Linked DNA regions of Homo sapiens: all the other regions are linked to region 6. Evidence: promoter capture Hi-C in 16 types of primary human blood cells and fetal thymus (Javierre and others, 2016). All regions are on one chromosome and are shown on one strand. Each heading gives the region's core, a stretch centred on a gene start or on the middle of the fragment in contact. The rest is flanking DNA. Distances are from core to core; before and after follow the strand shown.

Evidence for each region. Contacts are between HindIII fragments. The CHiCAGO score rates a contact against its expected background, and 5 or more counts as called.
Region 1: a fragment that was not itself captured here is called in contact with the fragment with the promoter of GNB5 in region 6 in 2 of 17 cell types (total B cells and naive B cells); the score reaches 5.8 in total B cells.
Region 2: a fragment that was not itself captured here is called in contact with the fragment with the promoter of GNB5 in region 6 in 5 of 17 cell types (naive CD8 T cells, total B cells, total CD8 T cells and 2 more); the score reaches 6.9 in naive CD8 T cells.
Region 3: a contact is called between a fragment that was not itself captured here and the fragment with the promoter of GNB5 in region 6, in 2 of 17 cell types (total B cells and naive CD4 T cells). The highest score is 7.6, in total B cells.
Region 4: a contact is called between the fragment with the promoter of MYO5A here and the fragment with the promoter of GNB5 in region 6, in 2 of 17 cell types (non-activated CD4 T cells and naive CD8 T cells). The highest score is 5.3, in non-activated CD4 T cells.
Region 5: a contact is called between a fragment that was not itself captured here and the fragment with the promoter of GNB5 in region 6, in 1 of 17 cell types (naive CD8 T cells). The highest score is 7.0, in naive CD8 T cells.
Region 7: a contact is called between a fragment that was not itself captured here and the fragment with the promoter of GNB5 in region 6, in 4 of 17 cell types (naive B cells, naive CD8 T cells, total CD4 T cells and 1 more). The highest score is 9.9, in naive B cells.

The regions. Positions count from the first base shown.
Region 1 is chr15:52,613,073-52,617,156 of GRCh38, forward strand. It overlaps ATOSA (atos homolog A), which reads right to left. Exons shown (of 13, transcript NM_001385016.1): 3 at 601-785. Among named protein-coding and RNA genes, the nearest start is that of ARPP19, 46 kb to the left of the region's middle. The HindIII fragment of the contact is 3,203 bases long and covers 672-3,874 here.
Region 2 is chr15:51,862,917-51,866,483 of GRCh38, forward strand. It overlaps TMOD3 (tropomodulin 3), which reads left to right. Exons shown (of 10, transcript NM_014547.5): 2 at 1-94. Among named protein-coding and RNA genes, the nearest start is that of TMOD3, 35 kb to the left of the region's middle. The HindIII fragment of the contact is 2,560 bases long and covers 628-3,187 here.
Region 3 is chr15:52,694,806-52,698,489 of GRCh38, forward strand. It overlaps a transcript of ATOSA not described here. Among named protein-coding and RNA genes, the nearest start is that of ATOSA, 17 kb to the left of the region's middle. The HindIII fragment of the contact is 7,421 bases long and covers 1-3,684 here.
Region 4 is chr15:52,526,588-52,530,129 of GRCh38, forward strand. MYO5A (myosin VA) reads right to left here and starts at 2,293. Exons shown (of 42, transcript NM_001382347.1): 1 at 2,193-2,293. The coding sequence starts at 2,219. RefSeq lists a silencer at 1,943-2,822. The HindIII fragment of the contact is 12,943 bases long and covers 970-3,542 here.
Region 5 is chr15:51,823,136-51,826,932 of GRCh38, forward strand. No RefSeq gene overlaps it. Among named protein-coding and RNA genes, the nearest start is that of TMOD3, 4.6 kb to the right of the region's middle. The HindIII fragment of the contact is 734 bases long and covers 1,876-2,609 here.
Region 6 is chr15:52,188,989-52,192,968 of GRCh38, forward strand. It overlaps GNB5 (G protein subunit beta 5), which reads right to left and starts at 2,404. Exons shown (of 13, transcript NM_016194.4): 1 at 2,334-2,404. It overlaps MYO5C (myosin VC), which reads right to left. Exons shown (of 41, transcript NM_018728.4): 41 at 3,334-3,980. The region is part of intron 2 of CERNA1 (competing endogenous lncRNA 1 for miR-4707-5p and miR-4767); the gene reads left to right. RefSeq lists an enhancer at 2,502-3,001. The HindIII fragment of the contact is 7,593 bases long and covers 1-3,950 here.
Region 7 is chr15:52,638,356-52,642,288 of GRCh38, forward strand. All of the region lies in intron 2 of ATOSA (atos homolog A), which reads right to left. Among named protein-coding and RNA genes, the nearest start is that of ATOSA, 39 kb to the right of the region's middle. The HindIII fragment of the contact is 1,136 bases long and covers 1,923-3,058 here.

The sequences.
Region 1 (4,084 bases), core at 1,023-3,522, 420 kb after region 6:
TCAAAATAAAGCAGACGGGGCGTCCTGGCTCATGCCTGTAATCCCAGCACTTTGGGAGGCTGAGGAGGGCGGATCATGAGGTCAGGAGTTCAAGACCAGTCTGGCCAATATGACAAAACACCGCCTCTACTAAAAATACAAAAATTAGCCTGGTGTGGTGGCACGCACCTGTAGTCCTAGCTACTCAGGAGGCTGAGACAGAAGAATTGCTTGAACCCGGGAGGTGGAGGTTGCAGTGAGCCAAGATCGCGCCACTGCACTCCAGCCTGGGCAACAGAGCGAGACTCCGTCTCAAATATATAAATAAATAAAGTAAAATCCAACAGCAGAGATAGTCTTAAATCTAGCTTATGAGACAGCAGGTATGAAATTGGGTGCCCACTTCCCCACTGATCAGCAGAGTTACCTGCAATGCCTTCAAGAGCCTCATTTGAGAGCCAAGGTTATTAGCTATGGTCCAGGATTTGGATTTTTTCCCTTTATGATTATGATCAATTTTACATTGAAATATGACAATTATAACTGTAATAAAATAAAGGTGATGATGAACATAAACTAGTTTATATAAAAGATACAAAGCATTCAACACAAGATTCTCACCTGGGCCAGCTTGTCACTACATTCATGTTTGGTAGTTACTGGGTAACAAGACTGTGCTGGAGGGCAATGAAAGCTTTCTGTTCGACCTTTTACAGAACATTCAGGTGTTCGTCCTTCTGTTATCAGCAAGGCCAAAGAGACCAAGAACTCCTCTGCATCATATTCAAAATATTCATCCAGAGTATCTGATATAAAAAAGGGGCAAAGGGTCCTCAATTTAATGTACTCTTAGTAAGAACTCATCTGGTCTGCCTAAAATAACTAATGTCACATTACACATTATTCATTTAACATAGAGTGAAAATAATAAAAATGAGAATCAAAATATACTAAACTTTTGATTCACAAACTACAGAAGTGAGGAGATGATGGATAATTCCAAATTCTAGTTGAACTGGTATATTAATTATAATTGTAATATAATTAATAATAATAATTACTATTATTTTTGAAACAGAGTTTCATTCTTTTTGTCCAGGCTGGAGTGCAATGGCGCAATCTCGGCTCACTGCAACCTCCGCCTCCTGGGTTCAAGCGATTCTCCTGCCTCAGCCTCCCAAGTAGCTGGGATTACAGGCATGTGCCACCACGCATGGCTATTTTTTGTATTTTTAGTAGAGAAGGGGTTTTGCCATGTTGGTCAGGCTGGTCTCGAACTCCTGACCTCCGGTGATCCACCCGCCTCGGCCTCCCAATGTGCTGGGATTACAGGCATGAGCCACTGAGCCTGGCCTATAATTACATTTTTGGGTCAGGTGTGGTAGCTTACTTTTCTAATTAAAAAGTGACACATTTTCTGAGAAATTTATAAAATTCAGAGAGTAAGACAAAAACAACTCATTATTCAGAGATATCTATTGTTAACTTTATAGCCTATAATAATTATATTTTCGGGCCGGGCGTGGTGGCTCATGCCTGTAATCCCAGCACTTTGGGAGGCCGAGGTGGGCAGATCACCTGAGGTCGGGAATTTGAGACAAGCCTTACCAACATGGTGAAACCCAGTCTCTACTAAAAATACAAAAATCAGCTGGGTGTGGTGGCGCATGTCTGTAATCTCAGCTACTCAGGAGGCTGAGGCAGGAGAATCTCTTGAACACGGGAGATGGAGGTTGCGGTGAGCCAAGATCACCCCATTGCACTCCAGCCTGGGCGACAGAGCAAGACTTTGTCTCAAAAAAAAAAAATTAATATTTTTGGATGTCAGGTACAATAGTTTTTGCACACAAATCATCACTAATAGCTAAAAGGTTAAAATGTCTTATGTCATATTTTTAGCTAAGATGTTCTATTGCTATTATTTACATATTAGAAAAAGATACAGATCCAACTGCATGTTTCTCTTTCTCTCCCCCTCCCTTTACTAGTTCCTTAGTCTCACAGCACTAATTCCGTGACATGAAAATTCATAGTCATGGGGTCCTCTGTGCTTTTACTATATAGTAATAACAATTTCTAAGGAAGAAATGCTATTATCCAGCAGCGGCACAAAGCCTGATTTGCAATATGTGGAGTGTGGTATTCTGGTTATTACAGTTTCAAACAATCTAATCTGTGGATTTTTTTCACGTAGTTATGGTAATTTAAATATTTCTCATGAGTGCTCTTAGTTTTTTAACAGCTAATTTTAAAAACTGTTAACTTGCTATACAAGTTGAACATTCATACACAAAAGTGCACACACTATTCAATTTGTTGTACAATTTGTTGTACAAAAAGTTGCTCTTATCTCGGCCAATCAAGCAACAAATATTTCAAGTGCCTATTATACCTCAGGTAATAGGAGGACACAGAGTCGTATGCACATAGTTCCTAGTTTTGAAACCTTTACAATTCAAAGAATTTTAAAAACAAACAGAACCATGCAGCATGGAATGGGAAGAGAGAAGGTGCAATTTGAGCAGAGATCTCATGTAGAGAAAAGTATGCAAAAAGAAAGACTGGAGCCAGCTTATGAATAGCTTTGAAGGGTATGATGAAGAATGCTCTTTTCCAGCTTCAGGAAGGCTTATCAGGAAAGGAAGAAGCCTTGGGAGTAAACTTTATTAAACTGGTATTTTAAGACCATTCAGAAAAGTTTCTCTAAAGTGACCATTTGGAACATATAAAATGACAGCTGACATTTGGTAACTTATCACTGTCAGTTCTAAGTACCTTCTACACGTCAACTGATTTAATCCTCAGAACAGCTCTAGAAGGTGAGGACTATTACTTCTATTTTTCAGATAAATGAAGCATGGAGAGGTTAAGTAATTTGCCCAAGATCATCCAGCTAGGAAGTAGCAAAGTTGAATTTTGAAGCTGGACAGTTTAGCTCCAGAACCTGGACTCTAGTACTATTCCCAGTCAATTCATCCAGTTTATCATACATCCCCAGGTTAAAAAATACATGGATCATACACTTTAAACATTCTCAGAGTAGTAGACACAACAACCAAATACATATTATAACGTACTGTGATAACCACTCGTACAGACGTTAGCAGTCTATGTTATAAGAGCACAGACAGGTGGCCAGTAGTTGAGTAGGGGTATGTGGTGGAAGACAGTGGTGATGAAAGGTTCTAAGGGGTATGTGGTGAAGACAGTGGTGAGGAAGGGTTCTACGGTAGTGACGTGTTGCTTGAGACAAGTCACTGAATGTTTTCTTCTGTTAAATGAAAGTAACATCTACCCAGTTGTCTGAAAGAACTTTAGGAAGATCACATAGAGCAAGATTTTAACAGTGGCCATTGCCAAGAGTGAACACCGGCAGCCTTCTTTAAGTTGTGTGACCCCTGGTTGGAAGTGGTGGTTCATGCCTGTAATCCTAGCATTTTGGGAGGCTGAGGCAAGAGAATCCATTGAGCCCAGGAGTTCAAGACCAGCCTGGGCAATATAGGGAGACCCTGTCTTTATTTACATGTATATATAAAAGTGTGACCCTGTTCCCCAACCCCAACAAAGCCAATTGATTCAAAGTGGGGACCTGACCCATCCTGGGTCAGTCTATTTCCCAGGACACTGGAGTTAGGATTCAGAGATGTTGGTTTGTCCCCGTCTGCTATGACTTAAACTGAGGCAATGTACACCCAGGAGCTATGCAATGACCATAGACTGCCATGGGCATGGAACAGCAAAGAGAATGAAATAAGCTATATAGTGAATGAGAGAAACAAGAGACTTTGTAGACATAGAAAGCCAGAAAAAGTAGTTGCCTGATTCCTGACAATGTTCCAGTCCCTCATAAACCTACTGAGACAGAACTCTGTATCCCTAGCAATCAATTCCTTTAAGCTTGTTGAGTGAATTGTTTGTAATCAAAAGCACCTTGACTAGTAACTAAAGTATATTGTTATGAAATTAGAGAAGACAATCATCAAAAATAAAAAAAATTGCTAGTCTATAAATGAGAATTATTGAGTGATGGGCTGAATTGAAATTCATATGTTGAAGCCTTAACTGGCACTGTGACTCTATTTGGAAATAAGGCTTTTAGGAGGTA
Region 2 (3,567 bases), core at 658-3,157, 330 kb before region 6:
GTACAAAGACCTTGATGAAGATGAGCTCCTTGGGAATCTGTCAGAAACAGAACTGAAACAACTGGAAACTGTTTTGGATGATCTTGACCCCGAGGTAGGTGCTAGGTGATGAAGAGAAATGAAATAACTTTTCGAATTCTTTGAAACTCAGTAGCTGCCTTTGAGCTTTTCCATGACTTTTCTCTGGCACCTTCCACCCTTTCCTCCACTTTATCCAAATCAAGTTGCTTTTGGCTCTCTCTCCAGTTCCCCACTTCTGCCTCCATATGTTTAATGACATGACTGTCCTAAACTACTTCAGTATCCTTGTTTTCAAACATCTCCTGAAATTTTTTCCTCCTCTAAGAAATTTTTCTCCTCTGTGCAGGAAGGGATATTTTTAGTACAATGCAGCAGATGGTTACCTTTTTGATACACGCCAACCTCTGTCTCTTCAGAGCTTCTATGCCAGGTGGCTCCAGTGTAGAATGCCTCTAAAAGATTCTTCATGACCCTAAATCTAATTGTTCCCTTTCTGAAAGAGGCTGACCGAATTGATTACATTTCCAGACATTGGTAGAATAGATCTAAGTAACTTCTTGGCAATACAGCAGTCCACTGTGGAGCAGACATGAATATATGTATGTAAGCTTTAACTTGCAAGGTGGATGTTGTTTGTCTTATAAATTACACAAGGCTAAGATAGACACCCATGACCCTTGAATTGTTATTCCCTGATATGTTGGAGGACGGGCAGTGAAGGAAGAGCCTGAAGGTCGTGAAGGTAATGGTTGTTTGCTAGGCTTCTTTTCTTTACCACATTTCTTTATGCCAAGACGTTGATTTTAAGTATCCTCTAAGGACTGAGATGGAGTTCATTTTATAACGTTGTTGTTACTGGATGATGTATCTATACCATAGATCAAATCCCTTAACCATAATTACTATTATAAGGAAAAGTTCCCAGTACATCTGATTGGAGGGGGATTACTCAGGATAATGATGCTGTTTTTATCACATCACAACAGTATCTTCTGTAGGCAGTTCAATCTATTAGACCTATTTGAATCAAATGTTTTAGAACTGGAAAAAGTGGCTGGGTGCTCACGCCTATAATCGCAGCACTTTGGGAGGCCGAGGCGGGTGGATCACTTGAGGCCAGGAGTTCGAGACCAGCCTGGCCAACATAGTGAACCCCGTCTCTACTAAATATACAAAAATTAGCTGGGCATGGTGGTGCACGCATGTAGCCCCAGGCTACTTGGGAAGTGGAGGTATGAGAATTGCTTGAGCCAGAGAGGTGGAAGTTGCAGTGAGCCGAAATTGCACCACTGTACTCCAGCTTGGGTGACAGAGCAAGACTTATCTCAAAAAAAAAAAAAAAAAAACTGGAAAAAGCATAAGACTTTATCTAGTCCCTAGGCCAGGTTCCTCAATCTTGACAGTATTTACTTTTGAGGTTGGATAATTTGTTGTAGGGGGGCCGTTCTGTGCCTTGGAGGGATGTTTAACAACATCCCTGACCAGTAGCACACTCCTCCTGTTTTAAAATGTTCCTAGGATGTTGTTTTAATCAGGTTTGGTAATGGATGACACACACTGAAACTACTGCCTTGAAAGAAGAGTTTATTACTTACAGTTCCAAGAGTAGGAGGCACAGCATGCCACACAGAGGCACAGGGGGAAGCACCTAGATTGGTCAGGAGGCAAAAGGATCAAGGAACAAGCATGGTCCAGAGCCTTTATTGTGGTTCAATGGGAATGAATGGGTGAGTCAGGATAGGCAAGTTTGAACAAGTTTAGGACTAGATGGTTTGAATAATTTGAACAGGCTCAGGGCTATGTAACTAGTCTCTAGTTGTCCAGTATCTGGTTCTGGGTGATTTAGGGGGAGGGGAAATACTGGCTTGGTAAGTGAGCGTTAGATAAAAAAGAGGTGGTTAGGAGAATTGGTTGGTTTGCGTATGAAAGGTGTGCTCCGGGGGAGGTTGGTGGGGATAGTGCGCTCTCTAGCCAGCCCTGGAAGGAGTGGTCTCTCCAGGATTAGCAAGGCCCCAAGATGTCAAAGCATCATAAAACTCAGAAAATAAAAAACATGACTTTTTTTTAGAGCCCAATTCTCACTCTGTTCCTCAGGCAAGAGTGAAGTGGTGCAGTGATAGCTCACTGCAGCCTCGAACTTCTGGGCTCAAGCGATCCTCCCACCTCAGCCTCCTATGTAGCTAGGACTACAGGCAAGCACCACTATACCCAGCTAATTACTTTTTAAAATTTTTTGTAGAGACAGGGTCTCGTTATGTTACCCAGACTGAAAAACATAATACCCTCCCCCTGAGTTGACAACCAAAAATGTCTCCAGGCATTGTCAAATGTCCTCTAGGGGACAAAAACACTACTGGTTCAGAAACATTGATCTAGTTCATGCCCTCTGTTTTACAGATGGAAAACAGAAATTAGGTAACTTGCCTCAGTTATTACAATTAGGGAAAGAGCTGGGACTAGATCCCTCACTGCCTGATTGATACCTGGCAGTCTAGCAGTCTTTTTCTGTTAAACCACATTGAGTCTCCTCCCAACTCATGCACTATGGTATCAGTCTGAAATCTGTTGGCTAATTTTTTATTTGTAAATCCATGGCCTGCTTCTTGTGTGGGGAGGCTTGAGTAACCTCTGAATGTATTTTGCAAACTCCCCAACCCCAGTCATAATTCCTCTAACCTCAATACTGTTAGTTGAGGCTAGGAGAACAGTGATGTTTATTGACAGCATCTGTTTGTTGGGTGACATGTTTTTGGAAAGCGTTCTGGTAAAGAACCAGGTAAGAAAAGAGGTCAAGGGTAGTAGCAGCTACTTCAGCCAAAGAAACACCACTGTAACTTACAAAGTCTCAGGAAGTAGGTCGAAGGTGTGTGTGGTACCTTATTATATTTTGGAGGACTGTTTTACTGTCCTTCTGCTGTATTCAGTGTACGTGTTTGCTAACTCACTGAGTTTTTGCCAAAAAAAAAATATATATATATGTCTCCAGAAGACAGCCAGCCTAGGAAGAGCTTTTTTTCCCCCCCAAGGCTAGGAATATATTTTACAGCAAAATTGCACTGCAAGAGAGAAACGTGTCATTTTTAGTGACAATCATATTAAAGAAAATTTTTATATGAAAAGTAATTATGATCTATTAGCTTACTTGATTAGAACATATTTCTAATGAAGCTTGGTTCATGGGTTTATAGTCTCTAAAACCAGCTAGCTTCATTTAGATTGTGGTTAGACTGTTTTTGGCCGGGTATAGTGGCTCACACCTGTAATCCTAGCATTTTGGGAGGCCAAGGAGGGAGATTTGCTTAAGAGCAGGAGTTCCAGACCATCCTGGGCAACATAGCAAGACCTTGCCTCGACAAAAAATTTTAAAAATTAGCCGGGGGCATGGTGGTGCACACCTGTAGTTCCAGTTACTCCAGAGGCCTAGGCAGGAAGATTGCTTAAGCCCAGGAGTTCAAGGTTGCAGCAAGCTGTGATCGCACCACTGTACTCCAGCCTGAGCAGTAGAGCAAGACCCTGTCTCCCCCCTACCCAAAAAAAAGAAAGAAA
Region 3 (3,684 bases), core at 667-3,166, 510 kb after region 6:
GTACTAAAAAAATCTATTATACCTTTTAAAATTTAAATTTAAAATATGTTTTGTCTTACTGATTTCCAGGGACAATCACCATACTTTCCCCCATTATTCTTTTTTTTTTTTTCTGTTTTTTTTTGTTTTGTTTTTTTGAGACAGGGTCTTATCCTGTTGCCCAGGCTGGAGTGTAGTGGTGTGATCCCGGCTCACTGCAACCTCCACCTCCTGGGTTCAGGCAATTATCATGCCTCGGCCTCCCAAGAAGCTGGGATTACAGGCGTGCATCACCATGCCTGGCTAATTTTTGTGTTTTTAGTAGAGTTGGGGTTTCACAGCATTGGCCAGGCTGGTCTTGAACTCCTGGTCTCAAGCAATCTGCCTACCTTGGTCTCCTAAAGTGCTGGGATTACAGATGTGAGCCACCATGCCTGGCCCTGACTACTTTTTAAACATTAGTTTTGCCACCAAATTGCTCAGGCTAAAGTACTCTCTGAACAAGTCTGCGCTTTATCTGTCTCCCTTGTGCCAATCAGCTTCCAAATCTACATTTCTAGCATAAACCATCCTTTCCTGCCCTGCAGGCTACCCAGCTGTCTACATCTACAGGATGACTCACAGATCCTTCCAAATCAATATTAAATCAACAACATTCTCTTTCTTCCTTGAGAGCTTCTACTTCTCTCCCGCCTTTTCTTCCTTTGTGATTAAGATCCTCCCTATTCATTCTTACAATATCTATTGAGCATCTACTTTGCACCAGTCACTGTTGTCGACGTTTGGAACAGTGAACAAAAAGAATCTTGTCCTCGTGCACCTATGAGTGTGCAGGGACTCATATTTGCCATGTGGACTGACAGGGACAATAAATGAATAAATGGTATGAGATATAAGAGGTAGGAAAAAATTGAGCAGAATAAGTGGGATTTGGGGAGAGGCATTTCCAGATAAGGTTGTCAGGGTAGGCGTCATTGGAAGGAGGTTAAGGGAGAAAAGACTTGAAGAGGTTTGAGAACAAAGACATGAAGGAGTTAAGGGAGTTAGCATGTGGCTACCTAGAGGAAGACTGTTCCAGGCCAAGGGACAGTCAGCACAAAGGCTCAAGGCAGGAGCATTCCCTTATATGCTTGTGAAGAGCAGTTGCAGCTGCAACTCAATGAATGTGGGTCGGGAGACAGTAGAAAATGAGGCTGGAGAGGGGATAGAGGCCTAGATTACATGGGGTTTTAGGGACTATCATAAGGACTGGTCATTGCAGGGCTTTGAGCAGAGACATTACGTGGTCTTATTTATGTTTAAAACGTTCACTCTGACTGCTCTGTTGAAATTAGGTGATAGTGGGGCAAGGGGAGACACATGGAAACTAACTAATGGTAGGCTATTCCTGCAACCCAGGTAAGAGCTAGTGTGGCTTGGTCTGCCATCCTCTGTCTTACCGAAGCTAGAAACCTCAGTGAACTCCTCTAGCCATTCCTCTCTCCCACTTCCCCACCCATTCCCCTACACACCCTGCAATATACACACCTGGATTCTATTTCCAAATACCAGCCACTGCCCTCTACCCAACCACAACAGCCTCCATTCAGGCTTATCTGGATCATTGAAACAGCCTCCTAATTGGCCTCCCTGCCTTTCACTTACCCCTTCTTCCAGTCTATCCTATCAGCTGGGGTACCCTTCTCATTACAGAGGGTCCTAGCTTGGGATATACGCATAGAATTCACTGGGTCTGTGACCTAGTGAATTCTGGAAAAGTTTGCTTTGATTTTCATTTACATCTAACTGAAATTTAGCATTTCCTTTATGCTTATAAACATAAGCAACAAGCTGCAGTACCAGTGACTGTCACCAACAGAAATTAGATATTTTCATAGCATAATTAAAGTTGACACATGTCTCAAGGTATCATTTATATGCATTACCACTTTGAAATTATATTAGACCTACCACTAGATTTTTTTAAATGTGCTAATAATGGAGCAAATATCACAATTAAGAACTATTTTGTATTTCAACATTATTGGATTCCTTTTAATTCCTATGTATTTTAATTTATATAAAGATTAAATATATAATATTTAACCTAATATAAATTATATTCTGGGGGATTCATGGGCTTTATCAGATAGCCAAAGGGGTTCAAGGCCAGAAAAGATTAAAAACCCATGTTCTAATCATATTTAATCTATTCAGACCTGATCTTATTACTTCCATAATTTGAAAATCCTGAGGTGTCTGGCTAGCATACAGGATAAAAATCTGAAGTTCTAACAATGCTGACAAGGTTCTCCCATCTTCACTTGGCTAACTTTTTCTGCTTTATTACAAGTCATTCCTTCTTTCTCCTATCCTATGTTCTGACCACCACAGACCCCTGCTGCTCCTCGGCTTATGGCCCTTTCATTCCTCTGGGCATTTGTTTCTTATGTTCCCTTTTCCTGCAAAGCCTGCACAACCATGGAAACTCTTGCTTCATCTTCAAAGACTTCCCTTCTTCCAATACTGCCTTCTCAGGCCAAATGAGTTTCTCCCTCATCCTTGCTTCTGTAGCATGTTATACACTGCTTTTCACATCTTACAGCAGTCTTGGTTGCCCGCTTGCCTCTCTTTCTCCACAGTAACACCTCATGGAAGAACCTATCTTACATATCTTGGAATCCTTAGAAGATGTGAACAGATGCTTCATAAATGGCTAGTTGAAATGAACTAAATACTTTTAAAAATAATTTATCTGAAACATGACTCACTTCTTTAATGCGTAAGAATATGACAAAATTTACCTTAGAATTTTTTCCCCAGTTTTCTTATAACCTTTAGGTTAAGAACATAATGTTACATTTGCTCATAAATAAATGTTTGCAAACCAGACTAGAAGATACTTGCAATACATATATCTAACAAACAATTTGGAACTACCATTAAAAAAAAAAGATTTCTTCAAGTTATTAAGAAAAAGACAACCAGCCCAATAAAAAATTGGGCAAAGACTTGAACAGAAACTTGAAAAGATAGATATCCAAGTGGTCAAAATTATGAAATAAAGCTCACGGGGGCTTTATATGACTCGTCAGGGGAACACAAATTAAAAATCACAAGAAACCACTACTACCACCCCAGAAAGGCTCCAATTTAAAAGACTGACAATCCTAAGTATTTTCAGGGATGTAGAATTTTTTTTTTTTTTTTTTTTTTTTTTTTTTTTTTTGTGAGACAGAGTCTGGCTGTGTCACCCAGGCTGAAGTGCTGTGGCAAGGTCTCGGCTTACTGCAACCTCCACCTCCCGGATTCAAGTGATTCTCCTGCCTCAGCCTCCCGAGTAGCTGGGACTACAGGCGCGTGCCACCATGCCTGGCTAATTTTCTTTTCTATTTTTAGTAGAGATGGGGCTTCACTGTGTGAGCCAGGATGGTCTTGATCTCCTGACCTCATGATCTGCCCGCCTCGGCCTCCCAAAGTGCTGGGATTACAGGCATGAGCCACCACGCCTGTTCCAAGGATGTAGAATTCTTATTTGTGGCTGGGGGAACATGCACAATGATACAATTGTTTTGAAAAACCACTGAGTTTCTGCTAGAGATAACCTGCATCTGCTTTATGATCCAGCAATTCCATTCTTTATACTTAAAAGAAATTAGTGCTATGTTCTCTCATTTGTACATTATATTCATAGCAGCTTTGTTCATAATATCCAAAAGATGAAAC
Region 4 (3,542 bases), core at 1,043-3,542, 340 kb after region 6:
TGACCTCAGGTGATTCACCCACCTCGGCAACGTGTTGGGATTACAGGCGTGAGCTACCGTGCCCAGCCTAACTTTTTAATTTTTTTGTAGAGACCAGGTCTCATTATGTTCCTCAGGCTGTTAAAAGGTAAATTTTAAAATAGATTGTGATAAAGCTGTGACAGAAGCCCAAAACTTTACCATTTACAAATCACAACATCTTTTCAATTTTTTCTCCCAAATTATCCTGGGGGAAAAAAGCATTCGAAATCCAACAACAATTTATTATCCACTCAGTCTCTAGTTAAGCAGCCTACTATTAGGTGACTCAAAGATGACTGCTCACCATATAGAACGGAGGGTGTCCAATCTTTTGGCTTCCCTGGGCCACACTGGAAGAAGAATTTTCTTTGGCCACACATAAAATACACTAATGATAAATGATGAGCTAAAAAAAAAATTGCAAAAAAAACACAACAACCCATGTTTTAAGAAAGTTTATGAATTTGTGTTGGGGCACATTCAAAGCCGTCCTGGGCCCACATGCGGCCCATGGGCTGCGGGTTGGACAAACTTGATGTAGAAGTGGAGGGGATGGGCTACACAAAGTAACCAAGGAATGTTTACAGACTGATTATCTCTTCATGTGAAAATGATTTTGATATTTCTTAATATCGACCTCATAAGTTCCTTATGAGGATTATGAGTTCATATTTTTAAAACGCTTAAAACAGTACCTGGCACATAGCAAGCACCATATTAAGTGTTTAAGTTACTTTTAATCAGTTTCCAATTGCATTCGTTCATATGTTAGAGATCTACAATGCCTAAAGAAATTACCAGGTTGAGAGAGAAGTTCCAACTGTACAGTCGTTAAATCTAAAACTAGAAAGAAAGAGGTCTCAGACAATGTTTCATGCAAGCTCATTTCATGGTTGAAGAAATTAATCATATATCTCATATTTGCAGAGAAATTCATAGGTTACAAAAAGCTTTCACAACGATTATTAAGTTTGATTCTCACAACAGCTTGTAAGGGATGCAAGGCAAGTATAATTAACTGCATTTACTCATTAGGAAATCGAACCAGAGATGTTAAGTGACTTGTCCAAGGTCACAGTTAGTAAGTCCCGGCTTGAATCCAGGTCTCTTGATGCCCAGTCTTCTTTCCTCTACAAAACACACTGCAACTTGGGCCCTGGACTTCAGTGACATTTGGAAACAATGATTCCAGTGATTACAGGACCCTAAATGAAAGTTCTGTTGCAAAAGCTAATGTGAAAAGGCAACTCTATTAACTGCATGTAGAAGTAATCAATATCTGGCAAAATATCTACCTACACATGAGTGTACAGTATAAAATGCCATGATTACATATATTCACAAAGGTCATCACAAATCTGCGCAGCACTCAAGTGACAGTTCTCCATAATATGTCATTCAGAGATCGCCAGACCCTGAGTATATTGATGTCAGTCTAAGAAAAGACTGCCACTTCCCTTAAACCAAACCCAGAAGGGAAAGGCTTGCCCCAGAGGATGGTAAAGACATGGAGCCTAACAAGGCTCTGCGGGATTACACGCAGGTTGCAAACTCCCAGCGATAAATGAGTACCGACCCTCCCAGCCGGTGAATCAGCTCGCGTTCATCCGGCAGCATCTTTCCCCGGGGCTCGCCACCCCCAGCGCAGCTAAACTGGGGAGCTAAAGGTGATACGGCCACCGTTTGCAGGATTCAAAATAACCTCACAGAAAGGCTAGCTGGCGGTAGAAGCGGCACTGCATACCAACACAAGACGTTATTTTAAGCGCGTGTCCCCACGAGAGAACCCATCCGATCTACTGGAGCAAGCATCTCCCACCCGCCGGGAATTTTCCAAAGCCAAGCAGGAGGGGAGGCACGCCCGCCCTGCTAAATCCACATGGGCCCCCTTTCCACTCCGAAGCCCGCTCTGCCCCCAGCTCGAGCAGCGCGGCAGGGGCCTGGGAGACCCCCGAGGCGGGCCACCTTCCGCCGCCTTCACCATCTCGCCCGAAAGAGGAAGGTGCCGCAGCGGGCGACCGGCTGGTAGGGCCGAGGGTTCTGAGGCGCTGAAGGGGATGGCGCTGGTGGGGCTCGCCTGGGCCCGGCGCTCCCGCCCCCTCCCCAGCCTGACAGCTGGCGGCGAGGGCCGCACAGCCCCAGTCCTCGACGCCGGCCGCGGGGTGCCTTACCTTTGTGTAGAGCTCCGACGCAGCCATGGCGGGCCCCGCGCGCCTACGCCCCCCGCCTGTGCGGAGGCCGCACCTCGCCTGGGCGGCCGCCCGAGCGGACTAGGAAGCGCCCGCAGCCGCCGGCAGGGAGCAGGGCAGGGCAGGGCCGGGCGGGGAGGGCCGCGCGGGGCGGGGCGGGGCGGGGCGCCTCAGGCGCTGGCCGCCCGCAGGGGCCTCGCCATCACTCCCGGGCTCGCCGCGAGCAGCCGCGAGCGCTCCACCTGCCCGGGGTCCTAGGGGTCGCCGCCGCCGCCGCAGCCACTTCGGCGGCCCGCGATGCTGCCTCCGCTGCCGCCGCCGCCACCGCCGCCGCCCTGTGCATTATGGGAGCGGGAGGAGGCTGCGCTCCAGCGCTGCCACCGCGGCTGCTCTGGGCTCTCTCGGGCTCACGCTGCCTCCCATCGGCTACGAGCACAGAGCATCATCATCATCAGCCTGCCAGCCGGCCCCGCCGCCGCCTCGCGCCCTGCCGAGGCCCGGAAACCCGCCCGGGACGTGAGCCCCGAGGGCGCGGCACACCCCGGGCGCCCCCACCCCGAAGCGAGCCCGGGGCCCTCTGCTGCGGAGCCTAGCTCCCGCGGTAGCGCAGCCATGGCACGGGCTGTTACTGTGTCCGAATAAACGATGGGAGCCTCCAGGCTGCTCCTCCCGTCCTTCCAAGCATTCCTAGGGAGAGGATTTAGGGGAAGCCCTCTTGAAAGACTGTAGAATAACCCAGGACTGTAGAAGAGCCTTGTCAGCAGCAGTGACCCGGGAGATGGGCAATGCAGGACCGGGAATTTCAGGTTAAGGTTGATCACCAAGGTCATTCCGAGCACCTCGATGTCTGCAGCAAAGTCGTCTCCCGATACCAGAGGGCAAGGGCCGCTTCTAAGCTACAGAAACTTAAGTGACTTTGAAACGAGATAGCCCGGGGACAGCCCAGGTGCCTCTTTCCTAGACCTGTGCGTTTGCGGAGATGCAACTACCCTTCTGTCCCAGCCTTCTTCCCGTCCTGTTCGCTGCTGGTGATTGTCGGCTCCATGGTGGCACCTGAAGTTTATCCGGTTGCCACCTGAAAATGACGGAGTACTTACATGGAAAATCTGTATTACAGTTTAACTCAACATCAAAAGGGCAAAGCCGCCCTCACTCTCCTCACGGTGATCCTTGAACATCCAGCACAAGAATGTGGTCTTTCTACTCCCAACCCTGCGCTGTCTTCATCCTCTATCTTCTCCCCACCCTCATTGTCGTTTCTGGTTGAATAATCTTCATTCTTTATTGTTGTCGTTGTTGTTGTTGCTGTTTTTGTTTGTTTAATCCCTGCCT
Region 5 (3,797 bases), core at 993-3,492, 370 kb before region 6:
AAGGTCGCACCACTGCACTCCAGCCTGGGCAACAGAGCGAGATTTCATCTAAAAACAAACAAACAAACAAACAAATTAAAAACTTAAGGAGGATAAAAATGAAGACAGTTTAGTTAATGGGTACAAAAATACACTTGGAATAAGTTTTAGTGGTTCAACAGCACAGTAGGGTGACTGTAGTTGTCAATAATGTATTGCATATTTCAAAATAGCTGGAAGATTTGAAATGTTCTCAACACAAAGAAATAATCAATGTTTGAGATGATGACCAATTACCCTGGTTTGATTATTACACATTGTATCATGTAGCAAAATATCACATGTACTCCCATGCATATGTACAATTATAATGTATCAATAAGAATTTAGTAAAAGACAAAAAGAAACAATTATTTAAGACTTTTAAGCAAATAGGAAAATAAGCTGACAATCACTACAAATATCAAGAAGGAATCCATTGGCTAGATAACCTAGAAAAAACAATACATTGTTTTCAAGCCAATAAATGTTTATAAAAAATTCAAATAATACAAGGAGGCCAGGCGCGGTGGCTCACACCTGTAATCCCAGCACTTTGGGAGGCCGAGGTTGGAGGATCACTTGAGGTCAGGAGTTTAAGATCAGCCTGGCCAACATGGCAAAACCCTGTCTCTACTAAAAATACAAAAATAAGTCAGGTGTGGTGGTGCACGTCTGTAGTCCCAGCTACTCAGGAGGCTGAGGCAGGAGAATCGCTTGAACCCAGGAGGTGGAGGTTGCAGTGAGCCAAGATCGTGCCATTGCACTCCAGCCTGGGCGACAGAGTGAGACTCTGTCTCAAAAACAAATAATAATAATAAATAAAAATAAATAAAGACAAGGAAAAGTAAGCAGAAGTTAAATCATATCACAACTCTGGTCTTGGTAGAAGGGTTTGGGGCATCTAGCATTTATCATTTAAAGACCTGAATTTAATTCTTATTTAATTCCATTTATGACAGGGATCATATTCATTCACTCACCTGAGCTGAAATTTGGCTTTCTGCAGTGACTGTAGGAGAGTCTAACAATGGACAGCACTGGGAATTTATTGCTTCTATAGTAAATGTTAAACTGAACAGTTTTAGCACTAACATTTTTAATATTATTAAAATAGTATTAAAATTTGGGGATAATATTTTAGGTTTATGTGCATATCCCAGAAGTTTATTCTTTAATAGTGATGTTTGTCATCAACTTTGGCTTCAGCTGAAGAGTGACTTATTTTTTGGCCCTTTTGGCATTTGGCTGAAATGTGTATTCAGTGCACTTCTAATGGAGGCATAATGGGGTATGAAAATATGGGAAAGGCAAAATTAATTCCAGCTGATGGCATTAGTGAAGGTTGAGTGGGGAACAGACATTTGAGATGGACAATGAAACATGAGGAGGCTTCTAACAGGCAGAGATGGGTTATAGAAAAAGGGGCACTTGAGGCCAAAAAGTGTGCTTGAATCTTTCCTGTAAAACTGTATGCACACAGGCGTGGTGGCTCATGCCTGTAATCCCAGCACTTTGGGAGGTCAAGGAAGGCAGATCACCTGAGGTCACGAGTTTGAGACCAGCCTGGCCAACATGGTGAAACCCCGTCTCTACTAAAAATACAAAAATTAGCCAGGCATGGTTGTGCACACCTGGAATCCCAGCTACTTGGGAGGCTGAGGCAGGAGAATGGTGTGAACCCGGGAGGTGGAGCTTGCAGTGAGCCAAGATCACGCCACTGCACTCCAGCCTGGGTGACAGAGAGAGACTCCATCTCAAAAAAAAAAAAAAAAAAAAAACCGGTATGTACCCAGCCATGATGTTTGTCTTCTGTGATTGCTACCTCCCACTGCTTCCATAGGATTCCTACCTCCAAGCTTCCATAATGAAATCCTTCCCTTTTCATTTCAAATTTTTGTCTTTAGTTTTTCTCAGCTCTCCTATAAATACACGTTTTTACATACACACAAAATATGCTTACATATACCAAAGTAACTATTTCCTAAAGGAACTCTTTGATAACAAGAAAAGTGCTGCTGTTATTAATTAGCATACGATGATTCAGTGTGACATGCTTTCTGAGTTATTCTGGCTGGAAGTTTAGAGATAACACTAATTAGAGCTTGTAATATTAACACATAAAGTAGAGTTGAAGTGTCATTTTATCAATCACTTTCACTCTAACCAAACCCTGAACACTAATGGGAACCATACTCTGTCCCTTGTTCAAATATTTTACCTGAAGGCCTCAGATTTGTTCTCTGTAGTGTGTTAGCCTGTTGAACTTCAACAGTTTTCCATTACTTGAAGTGGGTTAAATGCAGACGGTTGGGGGTGCCATACCACTTCTAGTTCAGATCATCATGTTTCTTTGATTAGGCACTATAGTAGTCAGCTTTTGCTAAGTAAGTCTATAGTAACAAACGAACCTAAACCTCAGTTTCCCCTTCGCTCACATTATATATTATGTCAGCTAGTGGCTGAGGCTCTGATCCATGTAATTTCTTATTCTAGAACCCAGGCAGAAGGACCAGCCTCTATTCAGAACTTGTCTCTCTTGGTGGAGGGAAAGAGCAGGCACACTAGTAGAGAAAGGCAGTGACTCTTAAAGCTTCCACCCAGAACTGTCGGATTGTCCCTTCCACTTATATTTTATTGACCAAAGCAAGATTCATGTTTCTAAACTTTGTGATTACAATATGACATTTAACCGAAGAGAGGAGGAAAATCCCATCATGGGATCATAGCCAAGCCTGGAATGCCTGCGGGGCAGCACTGGAAGTCACATAGTAGTGGGCAAGCCTGTCTATTCCTCTAAAGGAGAGCAAATATGTGGGAACAATATTTCAATCTACCACAGGTATTTAGTGGACTTACCTTTTCACTTATTTATGTAAATCTAATTTCCATGTTTTTCCTGTTTGTTTTCCTCCAAGAATTATGTTTCCAACTCTAAGGGAATAGTGGCAACCCTAAATTATAGCCTTTTTAAAAGAGAGCTCTGTCTCTATTTCAGGACTTTCACAGGATCTTATTCTCCTGTGTAGTCAACCCTCTTGCAGCTGGTGTTTACATCCAAATCAGGTCACTGGCTGGCATTTACAGGTGAACCTTCTGGGTCTGTGTCCCAAGAGGAGAGTAGGAGAGAGAGGGAAGAACCCAACATTCATTTATTTACAAATATTTATTGAATACTTTCTGTGTGCAGGCAGTATTGTAGATGCTAGGGATGGAGGAGTAAACAAAGCAAAGCTTGTTGAGCTTCCACTAAGGAAACAAGCAATATGAAGCTATGTGGTAAAAGTGCTATGACGACAAGTAAAGAAAGGAGAGAATGGCAGGGTAAGGTGGTAAGAGGAAGACTTTCAGAGGTAACATGTGAGCAGAACCTTCATTAAAATGAGGGCATGAGCTAGAAGCATCTGGGAGGAAAATCATTCTCCTGCACAGCATAAAGACTCTGAGATGGGGAGAAACTTGGCAGGATTAAGAAACCTCAGGGAGGCCAGTATGACTAGAGCAGTATCAGAGAGAATATGTGGTAGGAAACAAAACAATCATATACAGATTTGTAGAGGTGTTAATTATGGATTTTATTCTAAATGTGATGGAAGCCATGAACGGTTTGGAGCAAGATGGTGATATGATCTGATTTGTTTTTAAAAGATCATTCTGGGCTGGGAGTGGTAGCTCACGCGTGTAATCCCAGCACTTTGGGAGACCAAAGTGGGCAGATCACCTGAGGTCAGGAGTTCAAGACCAGCCTAGTCAACATGGCGAAACCCCGTCTCTACTAA
Region 6 (3,980 bases), core at 1,154-3,653:
TAGATCAACCTTGTTTGGTAATAGGTTCAGCATTATTCTATGCTGTGGAGTGTCATAATTTATTAAACCAACTTCCGTGTTTGGATACATAGGGTATATCCAGTTTTTACTTTTAAAATACTGCTTCATTAACTCAATTAAAAATGGACAAAAGGACCTTCATACATTGCTGGTGGGAAGGTAAAGTGGGGTAGCCGTTTTCCAATGGTGCAGCTGTGGAAAACGGTTTGGCAGTTATTCAAAACTTAAATATACAGCTGTTACCATAAGACCCCGCAATCCTACTTCTAGATATATACCCAGGATACTTGAAAATGTATGTTCACTGGCTGGGCGTGGTGGCTCATGCCTGTAATCCCAGTACTTTGGAAGGCCCAGGCGGGTAGATCACCTGAGGTCAGCCTGGGCAACATGGTGAAACCCCATATCTACTATACAAAAATTAGCCAGGCGTGGTGGCAGGTGCCTGTAATCCCAGCTACTTGGGAGGCTGAGACATGAGAACTGCTTGAACTTGGGGGATGGAGGTTGCAGTGAGCCAAGATCGCGCCACTGAAATCCAGCCTGGGCAATGCAGTGAGACTCCGTCTCAGAACAAAAAAAAAGAAAATATATGTTCACATAAAAATGTACATACTAATTTTCATGGCAGCATTATTAGCCAAAAGTGAAAGCAACCCAAGTGTCCACCAACCGACAAATGAAAAACAAAATGTCTATCCCTCCAGTAGACTGCTATTCAGCAATAAAAAAGAATGACGTTCTGACACATGCTACAACATGGTCAAACCTTAAAAACGCTATCCTATGACAGAAGCCAGACACAAAAGGCCACATATTGTATGATTTATTTATATGAAGTGTACAGGATCAGCAAATCCATAGAGACATGAAGCAGATGAGTAGTTGCGAGGTGGAGGGAAGAGAGAATAAGGGGGAAGGAGGGAGCTGAGAGTGAGTGGCTGCTTAAGGGGTATGGGATTTCTTTTTCGGGGTGATGAAAATACTCTGGAGTCAGTGGCAATGGTTGCAAATCCTTGTAAATAAACTTAAAAAACACTGAAATATATGTTTTAAAATGATGGGTTTTAAAACATGAAACAAAACGTGGACATCATATCTCAATAAATTTTTTTTTTTTTTTTTTTAGACAGAGTCTTGCTCTGTCGCCCAGGTTGGAGTGCAGTGGCGCAATCTCGGCTCACTGTAAGCTCCGCCTCCCAGGTTCATGCCATTCTCCTGCCTCAGCCTCCCAAATATCTGGGAATACAGGCGCCCGCCACCTCACCCGGCTAATTTCTTGTATTTTTAGTAGAGATGGGGTTTCACCGTGTTAACCAGGATGCTCTCAATCTCCTGACCTCATGATCTGCCCGCCTCAGCCTCCCAAAGTGCTGGGATTACAGGCATGAGCCACCGCGCCCAGCCCAAAGATTATTTTTAAAATGGACAAAAGGCTTGTGTAGTCACTTCACAAATGAGGATACTTATATGGTCAATAAACATATAAAAAGGTGCTCATTATCATTAGTCATCATAGAAATACAAAGTAAAACTACGATGTGATACAACTACTTAGCCATCAGAAAACCTAAAAAGCCTGACAACACAAAGTGTGGGCAAGGATGCAGAGACTGGAACTGCCTTTCTCTGCTAGTGGGAGTATAAGTCGGTATAACCACTGTAGAAAACTGGTTGGTAGGAGCTACTAAAGTGAAACGGATATAGTCTATGACCAGGCAATTCTACTCGTGCATACATACACCACAGAAAATAATGCTTATTTCCTTAAAAAAAAAAAAAAAAAAAAAAAAAAAAAAAAAAAAAAAACATAAATGTCATAGCAGCTATTCATAGAAGGCCTAAACTTGAAAGACCCAAATGTTCACCAGTCACAGACGAAACTGTGAAATGAGCATAGAATAAAAAATAACTGATACACACAATGTGGATGTATCTCAGACTTACAACTAAAAACCTCTTTCTAACCCCATAAGCTGTACTCAGAGGCTTATGTTGCCATGTGTCACCTGGATCAAATTTTAAAACTGACTTAGTGATTTTAAGTATGCTTAATCTCTTTCCTGATGCCAATATTAATGTAAAAAATATTGAAATATTTCAATTTGAAATATTTGAAATTTACTATTTCAAAATAAATTCATGTGTATTGTAGAAAAATTAGATTCTACGGATTAACAACAACAAAACCCCTCACCCATGCTCCCACCGCACAGAAAGACCTGCTAACACTGTGCCCTGTACTCATCTGGATGCTTTTCTGAGCATTTCAAAAGCTGGAGTATTTTAACCGAATGTCAGCATGCACATACCTTCCAGAGTCAGCACTGGGAGCCACAGAGCAGATGGTGAGAGGTGAGGACCAGCGCGCAGCTTGAGGTGTGAAGCACGTCTCCCACTGGCTAATCTCCTTATCTTCTCTGGAGTGCTGCTCAGCTTGCTTCCTTCCTCCACAGCACTTCCATGCTCCCTGCTGGGCACGCACTGCCATCTGCATCCCTCACTCACCCCTGGAACCTGCCCAGCCCCTCTGTGGAGGGAGGCCTTGGCAGGTTTGACCTCTGTGTCTGCGCCCACTCACTGAGCAGCCCTCACATTCACCTGGGCCACATGTTCTTAACATTTCTCTATTTTGGTCTCCTTGCCACTGTCAGCTTTGTAGAACTGATCAAGACTGTGGGATGAGTGCCTCCCTTTCCCCATTTTTCCACACATAAACTCCTCAGCCTCCACAGGTCTCCCTGTCCCCAAACATGACCTACTTTTTCCCATGGTTGACTCCCCACCACACACACACAGTCCTCCAACGGGACTTTGCTCCTTCAGTTCTCTTCCCACCTCATCAGCAGTAGGATGAAGGCAGGGATGAGGAGGATGTGGCACCTGCCCTCTGGGGCTCACAGGCCTACAGAGGAAATGGGCAGCATTTCTGGCTTCCAGTCCAGGGTAAGTGCTATAAAACAGGCATAAATCCTGAGTTATGGAAGCCGAAAACCAACAGTGATGGCTCCTCATGGTGTGGGGAAGGTCTAGAAAGGGCATGGAGGCCGCAGCTCAGGATCAGAAACCCTGCCAATTCTCTGCCAAGTAGCCCCTCATTCTGACAGTGTGGAAGCGCCCTGGAGACACAGCCTAAGCCAGCACTTATGACATATTTACTTCTTCTCTAAACATTTTAATATACTTTAAATGAGATATTATGAATCTATAAAGATTCTAGCATCTTTCAGTATGACCGTAAAGAAAGGCATACAACTTGTACACTTAAGAGACATGTCATCTCCTCGCAATGAAAGAATCTGACCCAATTCATTTGGTAATTAATTTTATTGATTAAAGTATTACAAAGTTCTACTTTTCATTTTTTCATGTACAATGTATTGAAATGAACTAAACTCAATCACTTATAATATAAAAAGACATTATTATGTATTAGCAGGGTGATGCTTCATAATCATGTATTATTCCTACCTCTAAGACACCAGTCTGTATTATAGAATCACAGCTGTCACCTGTGACTGTCAGAAACAGAAGGTGCAATTGGGATTCTTAGGTTGGTGACAGAATAGCACTGGATCCACAGGCCAGAGACTAGGAGTGCTTATCAAATGAGGTTTTAGGCTCTGAAAGGAAGGAATGAGAAGGTGTGCCGGGACAAGGAATAGCCAGTTCCCATAAAACTTGGGAAACGTAGATTTCTCAAAAGTAGGGTCCGACACAATTTTTTAGTTACTTTTTGAGAAAATTTAAAAATAAATACATTGAAATGCTGATTAGAGAGCGAAAGTAATTTAGGTTGCTTTTTCAATCTGAGGTTGTTTTAAAAAAGTTATTGTATGAAAGGTATTAAAAAATAAAAAAATTATGGTGAATATGTTGGCAGGTAAGATTTGAAGTTCTTTCAGAGAAGATAAACGGCATGGCAATTAAGCTTTAATAATATATTAGTTTTAAATAGA
Region 7 (3,933 bases), core at 1,241-3,740, 450 kb after region 6:
TCACCAAGAGTGAACCCTAACGTAAACTACGGACTATGGGTGATGGTGTTAAAAAAGAGTACCACTGTGGGCCGGGCACAGTGGCTCCCAGCACTTTGGGAGGCTGAGGCGGGCAGATACCTGAGGTCAAGAATTTGAGACCAGCCTGGCCAACAGAGTGAAACCCTGTCTCGACTAAAAATACAAAAATTAGCTGGGCATGAGGCATGGTGGTGAGCACCTGTAATCCCAGCTACTTGGGAGGCAGAGGAAGGAGAATCACTTGAACCCGGGAGGCGGAGGTTGCAGTGAGTTAAGATCGCACCACTGCACTCCAGCCTGGGCGACATAGTGAGACTCTGCCAAAAAAAAAAAAAAAAAAAAGTACCACTGGGGTGGGTGGTATCACTAACAGGAAGGTTGTATGCGTGTGGAAACAGCGGATATATGGGAAAGTTCTGCAGGGTTTTGCTGAGAACATAAAACTGCTCTAAAAACAAACCTTATTACTAATTTTTAAAAATTACTTCCTACAAAGGCCAGAAAAACATATACTTATTTTGTGCAGTTTTAAAAAGTAAAAAATGAAAATAATCTATTCACTTATTCTAAAATCATATTTAAGAAGCCTCCCTTGGGAAGCACTGATTATGAAGAAAAAAAATTACTGGAGAAAGTGACTTGAAATTGACTTCAAGCAAAAAAAAGAAAGTATCAAAGCTCAGATGAGTCTTTGCTGTCCCAAGAGCAAAAAAAAAAAAAAAAGTCCACCCGAATAGGCTTAAATTAAAAGTTTACCTTTTATATTAAGTATTTTACTATCTGATAAGTATGAATATACTTACAAGTCTTTGGGCCTGAAAATCAGACTAGATTAGTTACTAGAAGGGATAAGTGCTAATTCTATAATATCATCTGTTCCTGAACTTGTATTACAAGCAAAAAAAACTGTTAAGTGGTTAAGGCAAGCACAGTTCTCATAGTAACTGACATTCTCAAAGTCTACTGACAATAACCTTGTTTCTCATATAACCTCTGGTGCTGAGTTTCTTGAACAAAATTCCCCTGGACTAGACTACTGAATATTTATATCAGGTTTCTATATTTTACAGATATGCCAGAATAAGAGTATCTAGTGAGTAGTAAAATATATTGTATAATGACGGCTTTTAGCATTCTATAAATACAACAGTCTGGGAAATAGCAATTTAGTGCCAGTCAGGTTTCTGTTTATAAAAGGTCTTATCTATAGAAAATAGCTGAAAAAACAGTTGAATTATTTCATTTACATTGAAGACTGCTGGTAACTGCTTTCTGGTTTGTGCTTGTGGATCAATCATGCAGTTTTAACACTGTTATAATGCTATAATAATAGCTAATACTTCTTAGGCTCTCACTATATGCCAGATTCTGTGGTGAATATTTATTTTTTTTAGACAAAGTCTTGGTCTTGTGGCCCAGGCTGGAGTGCAATGGCACAATATCGGCTCACTGCAACCTCCAACTTCTGGGTTCAAGTGGTTCTCCTGCCTCAGCCTCCCAAGTAGCTAGGATTACAGGCACCCGCCACCATACCCAGCTAATTTTTTTTTTTTTGGTATTTTTAGTAGAGACGGGGTTTCACCATGTTGGCCAGGCTGGTCTTGAACTCCTGATCTCGTGATCCGCCGGCCTCAGCTTCCCAAAGTGCTAGGATTACAGGTGTGAGCCACCGTGCCTGGCCGATGAATATTTTTTCCTATTTAATCTTCATAAAATACTAAGAATACAGTAAAAGTTAAGATACTTGCGCAAAGCCCACATATTAACCATCACACTGTACTTCCAAGAATAGGCCCATTGTACATGTAATAGTCATTCATGTACAATTACTACTGTTAACTAATCAAATCTAAAGTGTCAATTTTAAGACATATTACTCTTTTATCTTTTACTAACAAAAAAGCTTCCAATTAAACTATAGTGTGGGCCAGGTGAGGTGGCTCACACCTGTAATCCCAGCACTTTGGTAGGCTGAGGTTAGGAGTTCAAGAACAGCCTGGCCAACATGGTGAAAACCCGACTCTACTAAAAATACAAAAATGAGCTGGGTGTGGTGGTGGGCACCTGTAATGTAACCCCAGCTACTTGGGAGGCTGAAGCATGACAATCGGTTGAACTTGGGAGGCAGAGGTTGCAGTGAGTTGAGATCTTGCCACTGAACTCCAGCCTGAGCAACAGAGCAAGACTCAAGTCTCAAAAAAAAAAAAAAAAAAAAAAAAAAAGGCAGCAATCTTATATCAGAGATTTAAAATGTAGACTACGTACATTTAAAATAAACTAAATATGATTATCCTAAAATTATCAGTTTTATCAGATTGATTTAAATGCAATATATACTACTAGATCTGAAAACAAAGTGAGCAAACTATTTGAATGATTTTCAGCTTCTTTTAAATTTTTATTTATAACTGACATAATTATACATACTTATGGGGTAACAGTGTGATGTTTCAATGTATTTATACATTATATAATGATCAAATAGTATATCTATTATGGAAAACACTATGAAGGTTCATCAAAAAATTAAAAAAAGGACTACCATATGATCCAGCATCCCATTATTGAATATATATTCAAAGGAAATGAAATCAGTATGTCGAAGAGATACCTGTACTCCCACGTTTATTGCAGTTCTTTTAAGCGTCTTTTGAAAAGACATGCAGTCTTGGAGAATGAAACCATTTACCACAAACCTCTTATCTGAAGAAAAAATAAAACAGCTACAGGTACAGGCGTTTATAAGAACTGCATTCGTAACTTATGCTTACATATTTCTAGTCAATCGGTTTGTACGTTAATCAAAGTAAAAATACTTCCATCAAAATGTATGTTTAATAAACACTGGTTAAAGTAAACCTGTATTGTAAAAAATGGTATGAATTAACACTGGATATTTTACGAGAAAGGCTGCCAAAAGGCACTGAGCTGAAAGTTGACTTCACTCTCTGTGTGAATAGTAACCAAGAGCCCCCCTACAGTGCTATGGGGTCTTTCTCTTCCTTTCCACTGCTCCCATCTTGATCAGCCCAAGAGAAGCTTATCATCTGAAGGAGCAATGATGGGGAGGGTAGACCATGTTCCACGAAAGCAGAAAACTGTCAATTCTAAAAAAGGGGGTGATGGACCAGAAGTGTATGAGAATGATAGCTTGCCAAAAAGAAAATGAGATGATGTAATCACATCAAGAAAGAATATCCACCAGTTCCTTCAGTCATTCAGCCAGTTGAAGGAGGCAGGCAATGCCACCCTTGTAACTGTATGAGCGGATTCATTCATTACTCTCTGTGCAAATATAGGAAGATCAATTATTTGAGATGGAAAATTATAATTGTAAATGGCAGTTGTAAATATATCACCTTGCTATAAGGTTGGTAAGAACAGAAACAACACATTTTCTGATTTTTTCCCCACAAAGTAGTTTCATATTGCTCTGTTTCCTCTTTGAAATAGTAACTCTGCCAAAGGCAGTATCCTTTGATAAAGATAACAATCAAGTAGTGGGATTTAATGCTAAAGTAACATTTTAATTAATGTTTTATTGGATGACTCTGTGGTCATTATCATTAACTTCAGGCAGCCAAGTATAGAATATTTCTAAATATTCTAAACTAAACTGGTTTTAGTTCAGCTGATTCTCACACAATGAGAACTGTAGTCAACTAAGCACAACTATTATGATCAAGCAATTATTTATTTTGTGTTATTATGAAATCCTCTCTTTAGAAGATAAATTTGCCAATCTGTTTAAATTCTGTATTTAAGTTGGATCTTTCCCCTAGATTTTGATAGCTAAATAGCAGATCTTAAAGATCAGCATTTATAGCTATAATATATCCTGAAATTCACAGATCTCTCAATAAAACAAAAATCAAATGAAAATAATGCTAAGCAACTTGCAAAAAGTATGAA